Regions from separate parts of the Homo sapiens genome. Here region 2 is linked to region 1. The links are contacts of gene promoters, found by promoter capture Hi-C in blood cells and fetal thymus (Javierre and others, 2016). All regions are on one chromosome and are shown on one strand. Each heading gives the region's core, a stretch centred on a gene start or on the middle of the fragment in contact. The rest is flanking DNA. Distances are from core to core; before and after follow the strand shown. Region 1 holds the start of KRTAP4-12 (keratin associated protein 4-12). Region 2 has its middle 4.0 kb from the start of EIF1.

Evidence for each region. Contacts are between HindIII fragments. The CHiCAGO score rates a contact against its expected background, and 5 or more counts as called.
Region 2: a fragment that was not itself captured here is called in contact with the fragment with the promoter of KRTAP4-12 in region 1 in 2 of 17 cell types (naive CD4 T cells and naive CD8 T cells); the score reaches 6.6 in naive CD4 T cells.

What each region holds. Positions count from the first base shown.
Region 1 is chr17:41,121,075-41,127,009 of GRCh38, reverse strand. KRTAP4-12 (keratin associated protein 4-12) reads left to right here and starts at 2,828. Exons shown (of 1, transcript NM_031854.3): 1 at 2,828-3,919. The coding sequence starts at 2,888. The coding sequence ends at 3,493. RefSeq lists an enhancer at 3,148-3,701. The HindIII fragment of the contact is 5,176 bases long and covers 1,964-5,935 here.
Region 2 is chr17:41,681,876-41,687,810 of GRCh38, reverse strand. No RefSeq gene overlaps it. Among named protein-coding and RNA genes, the nearest start is that of EIF1, 4.0 kb to the left of the region's middle. RefSeq lists a silencer at 5,713-5,792. The HindIII fragment of the contact is 6,365 bases long and covers 1-5,511 here.

The sequences.
Region 1 (5,935 bases), core at 1,579-4,078:
TCCAGCCTGGGTGACAACGTGAGACTCCGTCTCAAACAACAACAACAACAACAACAACAACAAAACCAAATGTGGTTGATTCTTCCATTATTTTTTTCTTTTTTTTTCAGCTACATTAAATTACAATTGACATATAATAAATAAACTGCATGTACTTAAAATGCACAATTTGATGTTTTGACAGAAGTCCCTCTTTCCTGTTTTCTCATCTCCTCTCTCTCTATTCTTCTGTCGTTTTTTAAAGTGTAAGCAAATATACTTTCAATATTTATATCCTGGATTTTTAAAACATTGTTGCAGAACAATTGTACACATTTTCCTCCACTGCTTTATCGTCTCCTAACAATATCTACTGGAGATTAATTTATAGTAGCCTATAGAGACACTCCTTATTCCTTTTGACAGCTGCATAGTACTCCATCATGGGAAGGCACCACAGTTTATACACCAGTACCCTATTGAAGGACACCTGGGTTGTATCCAGTGTTGTTGTAGTTTTTAGTTTTTTTCCCAAATAGAACTCTTATGAATCGTCTTGTGCAATATCTTTCATATATTTACCTGAGTATCTTTGAGATATTTTATGGAATTGGGATAGCTGAGTCAAAGAATAATGCTGCTAGTTATTGCCAAACCTTCACAAGACAAATACGAGCATGCCTATTTTCACATCATCTCACTTCCAGAGAATGCTATCAGATTTTGAATTTTTGATAATCTAACAGGTGAGAAGTATCGTACCATATTATTTCATTTCTCTTACTATGCATGAGATTGAGTATATTTATATGGTGGTAAAATATTTGCATTTTATTTTCCCATTAGGCTGTTGGTCTGTTTTCTATCTATTTCCAGAAGCCTTTTTTTCTTCTTCTTCTGTCACCCAGGCTGGAGTGCAGTGGTGCAATCTTGGCTCACTGCAACCTCCGCCTCCTGGGCTCAGGCAATCCTCCCACCTTAGCTTCCTGAGTAGCTGGGACCACAGACCACAGATGCATGCCACCTCGCCATTTTTTTTTTTTTTTTTGCTTTTTTTTGTTTTTTTGGTAGAGATGGGGTTTTGCCAAGTTAACCAAGTTGGTCTCAAATTCCTAACCTCAAACAATCCGCCTGCCTTGGCATCCCAAAGTGCTGGGATTACAGGTGTGAGCCACCGTGTCCAGTCTCAGAAGTCTTTTATATACTATTAACCCTTTGTCCGTGATATTAATTGCTAGTTCTTTTTTTATTATTTAGTCATTTGTGTTTTTACTTTGTTTATGATGGTTTCTTACCATACATTTTTTTTTTTTAAATTTTACTTTAAGTTTTGGGATACATGTGCAGAACATGCAGGTCTGTTACATAGTTATACATATGCCATGATGGTTTGCTGCACCTATCAATCCGTCATCTGGGTTTTAAGCCCGACATGCATCAGGTATTTGTCCTAATGCTCTCCCTCCCCTTGTCCCTCACCCCCGACAGGCTCCAGTGTGTGATGTTCCCCTCCCTGTGTCCATGTGATCTCATTGTTCAACTCCCACTTAGGAGTGAGAACATACCTTGCATCTTTTTAATTATAAATAATTGTTTTTAAATATCAGGAGGGATTTAATTGCAAAATGTTCATGCGCAAAATGTTCCTTGAACACTCTAGGAGAGACGCCCTTTCCCTGTTACAGACTGTGTGACTTCAATCTATCTGGGCCTCAAGTACCTTGGATGTAAAGAATTTAGAAAAATTGTGTCTACATAGCAGAATCCTTGTGAAGTATAAACAAGATAACAATTATAGAGGACTCAGAAAATTCCTGACACATAGTAAGCACTCAAAAAATTATAACTATTAGTATTGTTTCATCTTTCATTGGAAGTGTACAGATTAAATACATAATTGTTATTTTGTTCACTAATCACACCATTCTCTAAATAGTTGCTAAATTCTTTCCTATACATGTTTCTTATTTGTCTTGTTTAAGCTTCTGTAGGACAGAAATTAAACTTGATCCTTTGTTTCTTTTCTCCATGTATCAAGCAAAATATCTCCAACATACATTGTGAGAAAAAGCAGCTTTCGAGTATGAGAAAATCTACTTTCAATAACACTTCAGTTAAACACATTCAGTGGGTATCTTGACTTACCAACAAAATAGAACAAAAATGTTCCTTATGATCCCCATCTCTGAAGAACATGCCAACAATAATTTATAAAGGGACCTATCATGCCAATGTATTTTTACTTGTAAAGCAATGAATCATTGCATTATATCTGTTTCAAGCTAAATAGAGTCAATAACATGAAACAGGAATTTCAGTGGGATCTTTTATATCTCACTGACCAGCCACAAAATTCAAAGGAATCACAGTGTTCCTTATTATACACAAGTTACCTCCTATCACCCCCCAAAGATGAATCTTTCATCACATTTTCCTACCAGCATTCTATGTAATTTATTTTTAACCTCTTTGAGAGCAGAGGAGATTTAGTCATCATAAAATCTATTTTCAACTTATTATCCAGGAGTCAAATAAATAAAGAATTAACTTATGAAATCCAATCAAACAATGTCATGTAATGGGTCTACACATCAGAAGACACATCAGATGAAGGAAGGAGAATGAGAGCTGATTCACTTGGCTTAACCAAATTGGATAGCTCAGAATACAACAGGAAAAGGAAATGTTGCCTTTTCTATTTATAGAAATATTTACCAGATAAGGACAACTATCTAATTTACTAAAAAACAACTGATTCTCTATTAGTAATGTGCAAACCACAAGATTATTCACATTGTCATAGTGGTTCTCAGCAGGGTATAAAAAGCAAAAGAGAGAACAAGGAGAGATCAAACTCAGAACACTCACTCTCCTGGAAACCCACCGAGAACCTCCACCCTCTGACACCATGGTCAACTCCTGTTGTGGCTCTGTGTGCTCTGACCAGGGCTGTGGCCTGGAGAACTGCTGCCGCCCCAGCTGCTGCCAGACCACCTGCTGCAGGACCACCTGCTGCCGCCCCAGCTGCTGTGTGTCCAGCTGCTGCAGGCCCCAGTGCTGCCAGTCTGTGTGCTGTCAGCCCACCTGCTGCCGCCCCAGCTGCTGTCAGACCACCTGCTGTAGGACCACCTGCTGCCGCCCCAGCTGCTGTGTGTCCAGCTGCTGCAGACCCCAGTGCTGCCAGTCTGTGTGCTGCCAGCCCACCTGCTGCCGCCCCAGCTGCTGTCAGACCACCTGCTGCAGGACCACTTGCTGCCGCCCCAGCTGCTGTGTGTCCAGCTGCTGCAGACCCCAGTGCTGCCAGTCTGTGTGCTGCCAGCCCACCTGCTGCCGCCCCAGCTGCTGCATCTCCAGCAGCTGCTGCCCCTCTTGCTGTGAATCCAGCTGCTGCCGCCCCTGCTGCTGCCTGCGTCCAGTCTGTGGCCGAGTCTCCTGCCACACCACTTGCTATCGCCCAACCTGTGTCATCTCCACCTGCCCCCGCCCCTTGTGCTGTGCCTCCTCTTGCTGCTAAATCTCTGCTGTGAACACACCACTTCCTTATTACGTCCTTTCCTACAGATGAAGGCTCTCATTGCAAACATGCGGACTGTTCAAGAGAATTGATCTGGGTCCCATAAGCAAACCTCATCCTTAGAAATTCTGTATTTGCATTCTACCTTTTGTCCAAACTCCCTTCCTTCCAAAGGAATTCATTGACAATCTCCTAATAAATTGACAAATTGTCCTCCAACATCCTCCCACCTCTTTGACTTCAGGACATTTATTCATCATGCCTAAGGAATTTGAAGATTGCCTCCATCATTTGTAGGGCCACAGATCTTAAAGCCTCCAACCTTGAAGTCCAGTGAAGTCTCTCTCTTAAAGTCTTTTGCAAACATTTTTGTACCTTGTTATTTCCATGTACCAAAATAAACCTCTATTCTATTGGCACTGAAAATTGAATATGATTCTTATTCTCTTTTTAAAAAGGGTTTTATATTTAGGTCCTGGGTGATTACATTTAACTACACCTGTAGGGCTCACAGCACAGATTAGTCAACCTTCTAACAGAGGTCAACTGACATCGATCACTGCCTAGTTTTTTTCTAGAAAAGTCTTTTCAGGCTTAGGCAAATCAATTAGTCATTTTGTATTCTTTAGACAAAAAGAGTGAAGCTGAAGTCATGAAATATCCATGAATATAACAACAGGGGAAACGTTTTGAAAGATTGATCACAACTCATCATCTTTTAAAAAATAATTTCAACTTTTATTTTAGAATCAAAGAGTACATATTCGTATTTGTTACATGTTGTGTGATGCTGAGGTTTGGGCTACAAATGATTCTGTCACCAGGTACTGAGCAGTGGGTCATTTTTAGCCCTTCCTCTCTCCCTCTCTCCCCCCTTTTTGGAGTCCCCAATTGTTCTCATCTTTGTGTCCATGTGTATCCAATGTTTAGCTCCCATTTGTAAGTGACAACATGCAATATTTGGTTTTCTGTTCCTGGAAAAATTTGCTTAAGATAATGTCCTCCAGCCACATCCATGTTGCTGCAAAGGACAAAATTTCATTCTTTTTTATGGCTGTGTAGTATTCCATGGTGTGAAAATGTCACATGTTCTTTATCCAATGCACTGTTGATGGGCACCTAGACTGATTCCATGTCTTTACTATTGTGCACAGAGCTGTGATCTTTTAAAACACTGTATTTCAATTTCTTTTTTTTTCCAGTAAAAGCAGCTATTAGGTGGTTTAGCAAAGTCCATGTATTTTCTACTGAGTCATGTGTAATGAATCCTCAACACAAACACAGTGGATCTCCTTCATTCTGACTGGCAGAGTTTCAATGGGGAGTTCATGCTGCCATGTAGAGAGGGCCACCTTCACGGCCAGGCAGGTGATGGAAATGAAGGAAGCAGGCCTAGTGAAAACTCACAGGTATGCTGGAGACTGATTTTTTTTCTTTTCGTCCAAAGTCATGCCCTTTTTTTAGGATGAAACTATAAAGACCCACATTTCTCCCCAACTAGGGATGCCTCTAATGGGTCATCTCATCTCCAGAACTCCCTATAGGTTCATCTGAGACTTCCACGGAGATTGCCCTGCAGTTTGATTTATCCCAGTGTCAAACTTGATCTTTCTCTCACTTTCCCTTCCTTTCCCTTCCCTTCCCTTCCCTTCCCTTCCCTTCCCTTCCCTTCCCTTCCCTTCCCTTCCCTTTCCCTCCCCTTCCCCTTCCCTTTCCCTTTCCCCTCCCCTCCCTTTCCCCTCCCCTGCCCTCCCCAGTGTTAATCCCAAGAGCATGCTTCAATAAACCTCCTGCATATTGCTCTCCATCTCAGTGACTGCTTCCTGGGGAACCCAGCCTGTCCCCCAAAACAATTTGAAATTCATGATAGCTAATTTGAGAGCTCAAATGACTGACTGAAATGTACTTTTAATATTTTAGTTCCTGAAAGAAATAAGAATGTAAACATAATAGCAGAAAATATATTTAACAGAATATGTAGAAAAATTATGAATTTTATATAAATCACATTTATTATTTTCTAAGGATGTTTAGATCATTTATACACAAATATATGCTCTTTAAACATTTAGACAATACAAAAGAATGTGACAATGTGAACAAAAGTAAGTTTCCCATCATGATCTTTGCCAATCCCATTCAATACCTAATGTTGCAAATTGAGATACATCCTCATTAAATGCATGCATAAAACATGTATGTATTTATTTGAAAACTTGGCTTTCGTTGCACATCTCTTGTTCTGACATTTATTCAAACATTATTTTATGTCCTTCCGGAAATGTTAACATTTTCCTTCACAAAGGCTTGGCAGATTTATTTACATATTTTTCTATTTACTCTTGAGAACTGTGAGTACATGCTTCTTTTTTTTTTTATTATACTTTAAGTTCTAGGGTACATGTGCACAACGTGCAGGTTTGTTACATATGTATACATGTG
Region 2 (5,935 bases), core at 1,080-3,579, 560 kb before region 1:
TTTTAAATATTGCCAATAAATTGATTTTTTTTTTGAGACAGAGTCTCACTTTGTCGCCGAGGCTGGAGTGCAGTGGCACTGTGTCGGCTCACTGTAACCTCCGTCTCCTGGGTTCAAGCAATTCTTCTGCCTCAGCCTCCCGAGTAGTTGGGGTTACAGGCATCCACCACCACGCCCGGCTAGTTTTTTAAAAATATTTTTAGTAGAGATGGGTTTTCACCATGTTGGCCAGGCTGGTCTTGAACTCCTGACCTCAGGTGATCTGCCTGCCTCGGCCTTCCAAAGTGCTGGGATTACAGGAATAAATTGAATTTTTGATACAACACTGCAAGCCAAACAAAAATATGCATGCCCATGGACTGCTGGTTTATGTCCCTGACAGTCAGGGTCACTGCCCTTGTGGAGTTGAAGGCCAGCGGGAGAGAGAGCCACTAAACAAATAATAAGATAATGAGGCTGGGCGCTGTGGCTTATGCCTGTAATCCCAGCACTTTGGGAGGCTGAGGTGGGCGGATCACCCGAGGTCAGGAGTTCGAGACCAGCCTGGCCAATATGGTGAAACCCTGTCTCTACTAAAAATACAAAAATTAGCTGGGCGTGGTGGCGTGTGCCTGTAGTCCCAGCTACTCGGGAGGCCGAGGCACAATAATTATTTGAACCCGGGAAGAGGAGACTGCAGTGAGCCAAGATGGCGCCATTGCACTCCAGCCTGGGCGACAGAGCAAGACTATGTCTCAAAAAAAAAAAAAAAAGGATAATGACAGATTGTGAGAGGTGCCAAAAAGGAGGTAAACAGGGTGATGTGAAAGGGCCAGGCTCCTTCAGATGGGGTGGTCAGAGAAGGCCTCTGGGGAGGCAGCATTCTGGCTGACAGAGGGTAGGAAGGAGTCCACTGTGGGGCAGGGCATGTGCCCACCAGAAAACTCAGAAAAACTCTGAGGGAGGAAATGCTAGGTGTACCTGATATATATATGTGTATGTGTGTGTATATATATATATATGTATATGAGTGTGTGTATATATGTGTGTGTGTGTATTTGTGTATATATGTATATATATATGTATGTGTATATATATATATATATAGACAAGGTCTCACTCTGTCACCCAGACTGGCTGGAATGCAGTGGCATGATCATGGCTTACTGCAGCCTCAACTGCTTAAAGCAGTCCCCCTGCCTTGGCCTCCTAAAGTGCTGGGATTACAGGCAGGAGCCAGTGTGCCTGGCCTGATACTTTGTTTTGATTCTATATTTACTAAATAAACTTGATTAATAGTTTGGTTTCCTTGACATCAGGAAGGAGGAACCATGGCTAGGTCATGGGCATCCCAGTCTCATGGTCTTCCCCTTTTGAGAAGCTAAGGCCCCAGTCAGCCAACTTGGGAACCTTTACTATCAGGCAAAATTCACCCCCGACATTTCACGTAGGTTCTTCTCTATTTTCCTTAAGTGTTGGCTGGTCCGAGAAATAAAGGGACAGAGTACAAAAGAGAGAAATTTTAAAGCTGGGTGTCCGGGGGAGACATCACATGTCGGCAGGTTCCATGATGTCCCCCAAGCCGCAAAACCAGCGAGTTTTTATTAGTGATTTTCAAAAGGGGAGGGAGTGTACGAATAGGGTGTGGGTCACAGAGATCATGTGCTTCACAAGGTAATAAGATATCACAAGGCAAATGGAGGCAGGGCAAGACCACAGGACCACAGGACCGGGGCGAAATTAAAATTGCTAATGAAGTTTCAGACACACATTGTCATTGATGATATCTTATCAGGAGACAGGGTTTGAGAACAGACAACCGGTCTGACCAAAATTTATTAGGCGGGAATTTCCTCGTCCTAATAAGCCTGGGAGCGCTACAGGAGACCGGGGCTTATTTCATCCCTCAGCGATGACCGTAAAAGACAGCTGTCCCCAAAGTGGCCATTTCAGAGGCCTCCCTCAGGGACGCATCCTCTTTCTCAGGGATGTTCCTTGCTGAGAAAAAGAATTCAGCGATATTTCTCCCATTTGCTTTTGAAAGAAGAGAAATATGGCTCTGTTCTGCCCGGCTCACGGGCAGTCAGAGTTTAAAGTTATCTCCTTTGTTCCCTGAACATTGCTGTTATCCTGTTCTTTTTTCAAGGTGCCCAGATTTCATATTGTTCAAACACACAAGCTCTACAAACAATTTGTGCAGTTAATGCAATCATCACGGTCCTGAGGCTACATACATCCTCCTCAGCTTATGATGACAGGATTAAGAGATTAAAGTAAAGACAGGCATAGGAAATCCCAAGGGTATTGATTGGGGAAGTGATAAGTGTCCATGAAATCTTCACAATTTATGTTCAGAGATTGCAGTAAAGACAGGCGTAAGAAATTATAAAAGTATTAATTTGGGGAACTAATAAATATCCATTAAATCTTCACAATTTATGTTCTTCTGCCATGGCTTCAGCGGGTCCCTCTGTTGGGAGTCCCTGACATCCCACAACACTTTGCCCTGACGGACATTGTTCTGCTGGAAAGGGTTTTGGGAGAGAGTTTGAATGAATGAATTGGAGCTGTCCTTCCCAGTGTGCATGCAATATTTTGTCACACTAAAATATTTTTTGAGACAGAATCTCGCTTTGTCGTCCAGGCTGTAGTGAAGTGGTGCGATCTTGGCTCACCACAGCTTTCACCTCCTGAGTTCAAGCTATGCTTCTGCCTCAGCCTCCCAAGTAACTGAGATTACGGGCAGGTGCCACCATGCCCAGCTAATTTTTGTATTTTGGGTAGAGAAGGGGTTTTACAACATTGCCCAGGCTGGTCTTGAACTCCTGACCTCAAATGATCCGCCCGCCTTGGCCTCCCAAAGTGCTGGGATTACAGGTGTGAGCCACAACACCCGGCCAAGACTCAGTTCTTTTTTTTTTTTTTTTTTTGAGACAGGGTCTGGCTTTGTCACTTAGGCTGGAGTGCAATGGTGCCATTATAGCTTATTGCAGACTTGAACTCCTAGGCTCAAGTGATCCGTTTCAGCCTCCTGAGTAGCTGGGACTACAGGCATGTGCTACCATAGCCAGCTAATTTTTTAAATTTTTGGTAGAGATGAGGTCTCACTATGTTGCCCAGGCTGGTCTTGAACTGCTAGGCTCAAGTAATCCTTTACCTCGGCCTCCCAAAGTGCTGGGATTACAAGCATGAGCCACCGCACCAGGCCTGAGACTCAGTTCTTGACTTGCCACCAGCTTTGTGGGTGACCTGGTTTACCTCTTGGCTTCAGTTGTATGCCCCATAAAAGGAGCACTGGGTGATCTCTTCCTGGGTCTGAAGTCTGAAGCGCTGTTTTCCCAAGTTGGGAGCATTTCCAGAAGGGTCTTCCGAAGTCTACCTTCCAGTGTGGGAGGTTACCCCAGCCCCAGGAGCCTGAGGAGTAATCATGGAGGCAGGAGTAATTAGTTTGAAAGTGGCATGCATGCCTGCTGTTAATGCTGGCTTCTTTATTAGTGTGCTCCTGGCTTTGAGATGCTGTCACCTGGGCAGCCAAGGGCAGGGTACAAAGCACAGGCTCTGGAGTGTCTGTATCTGAATATCATCTCCATCTTGTTGCCTGGGCGACTTAGCCCCTCCCAGCCTGCATTTTCTCCTCTGTACGACAGAGACAATAATGCCCTTCTCATAGGCTGTTGAGGGGATTTAAAGAGGAGACTATGTACAGCCGGATAAAAATGTAAAGTTATGAAACCACTATATAGATTATACCAGTTTCCCAGAGGGGAAGGGAGAGAGAGAGCCTCCGAGAGCAGCAGGGGACAGGAGTGAGCCCCTCTGAATGAGGATGGGACAGAGGTGGGCACCTCTCCATGGTGATCTCCTTGGGATGTGACAAGGGCATGGCTGTGTAGGACACCTTGGGACCCTCGACCTCAATAAGATTCTCCAAGGCCACCAACGTGGCACGGAAGCAGCAGAATCTCCCTCCAGGAAGGGATTGCACCCTCTGGGAAAATAGACATCTCCATGGTAACCAAGGCAGATAGATGATCTGGTCTAGGGGCTCCTTGTAGCTCTGGTGCTCTAGAAAACCTTGTGAGCGAGAGAGAATCCTGGGGAGGGCTGGAGCCCCTGTCATTTCCAAGGCTGGATTTCTGAGCAGCCCAGTGGGATGTTAATTGGCAAGGATCTCACTTGATTTAAAGAAAGTCCAATTAATGCCACATTTCTTGCATTCCTTATTTGGGACTTAACGACCCACGTATGTAAGTGACTAGAATAGTTCCCCCTCCCCCGCTCCCATGCACATAGAAGGTCCCAGTGAATGAAGGCTGCTGTTCTTACCACTTGGAGAAGGAGGGAGACCCGGGCCTGTTGCAGCTTGATCTGCAGCCTGCACAGGGTAATGATGAGATGTGCAGGTCGGGCATCAGCTGGGGTTCTGCTGGCAATACATCAATTCTTCAAACCTGCCTAGGGTAGATGCTGGGAAGGGACATGGGGGAAACTTTTTTTTTTTTCTTTTTTGAGATGATATCTCACTCTGTCTCCCAGGCTGGAGTGTAGTGGTGCGATCTTGGCTCACTGGAACATCCGCCTTCCGGGTTCAAGTGATCCTCCCGCTTCAGCCTCCCAAGTAGCTGGCATTACAGGCACCCACCACCACGCCTTGCAAATTTTTGTATTTTTAGTAGAGATGGGGTTTCACCATGTTGGTCAGGCTGGTCTCGAACTCCTGACCTCAAGTGATCTGCCTGCCTTGGCCTCCCAAAGTGTTGGGATTACAGGCGTGAGCCACTGCGCCACGCCCGGCCTGACATGGGGGAACCTTATGGGGTGCTGGAAATGACCTTCCTCTTGATCCAGGTGGCAAAAATCTATTGAGCTGTACCCTTATGGCTAGTGTGTGTTGTGTGTGTATGGCGGTTATATTTTACCGCCACCTCCCAACCCGGCCAGCCTTTCTTCTTGTTCTTACTTTCCCTCCCCTTGCCAGGGACCCACTTATGCCAACCCACGGTGGGGACTTGGCTCAGTTCCTCTTTGCCTCTTTGCTGGCAGAGCATCTGTCTTCCCCATCCTGCTTCCCACTCCTTCCCCTCCTCTCTTTCCTCCTTTTTCAGGGAGTCCTGCAGGAGCTCCTATAGATGGGGGGAAACTTCATTTAGGAAGGGAGATAAAGACCAGAGCCCTTGGTTCCTCTTCCCCGGGCAGGGCCATCCAGGTGGCCCAACTGCGGACTCAACTGCCGAGGTGGGTGGGAGAGGATACAAAGTGCAGCCTAGGGAGGTGGAGAAGGCCAGGCCTGGCATTGGGCCTCAAGGAGATCACAGCCTAGCGAGGGTTCAGACAGCACTCCAAGGAACCAGGGGCCCAGGAAGCGTGGAGGAGGTGCCAGACACAGGTGCACAGAGGGGTTCTATATTCTGACCGGGCACTGAAGGAGGTGTTCTCTAGCTGAGGGCAGGTGGATGTTCCAGATGGAGGGAAGAGCATTAGACATGTTTGATGGCAATCAGTTCAGATCTGGCCACTTTCCTGGGACAAGCTTACAGGTGTGTTTGGGTGGAGCAGTCTGCCTTGGACCTAGGCATAGGTCCTCTAGCCCTCCTTTCATTTCATTTCATTTCATTTTTTAAACTAGTGTAACTCATATAAGGGCTGTCTCCAAGAGTTCATCCAGCAGTAATCGAGCAGCAAGACTCATCAAGTCCTTCACTTTCACTGTGAGAGGACAGGAGGAAACGCAGAGAGGGCTGGTGCCGTGTGGTGACAACCCTCACCAGTTGGGACACACTGCTCATCCCCTTTCAGCCACACCTCTGCACACCCCCCAACACTCAGCTGTCCCCAGTGTGCAGCTCTGGCCCCAAGCACATGTCACCTGGAGGTGCCTCTCTGGGCAGCCTCCCCTCTCTTCTGCACCCACCCATCTTCCCCAAATTAATTCTAACTCTCAAAGGGCCACAGCAGC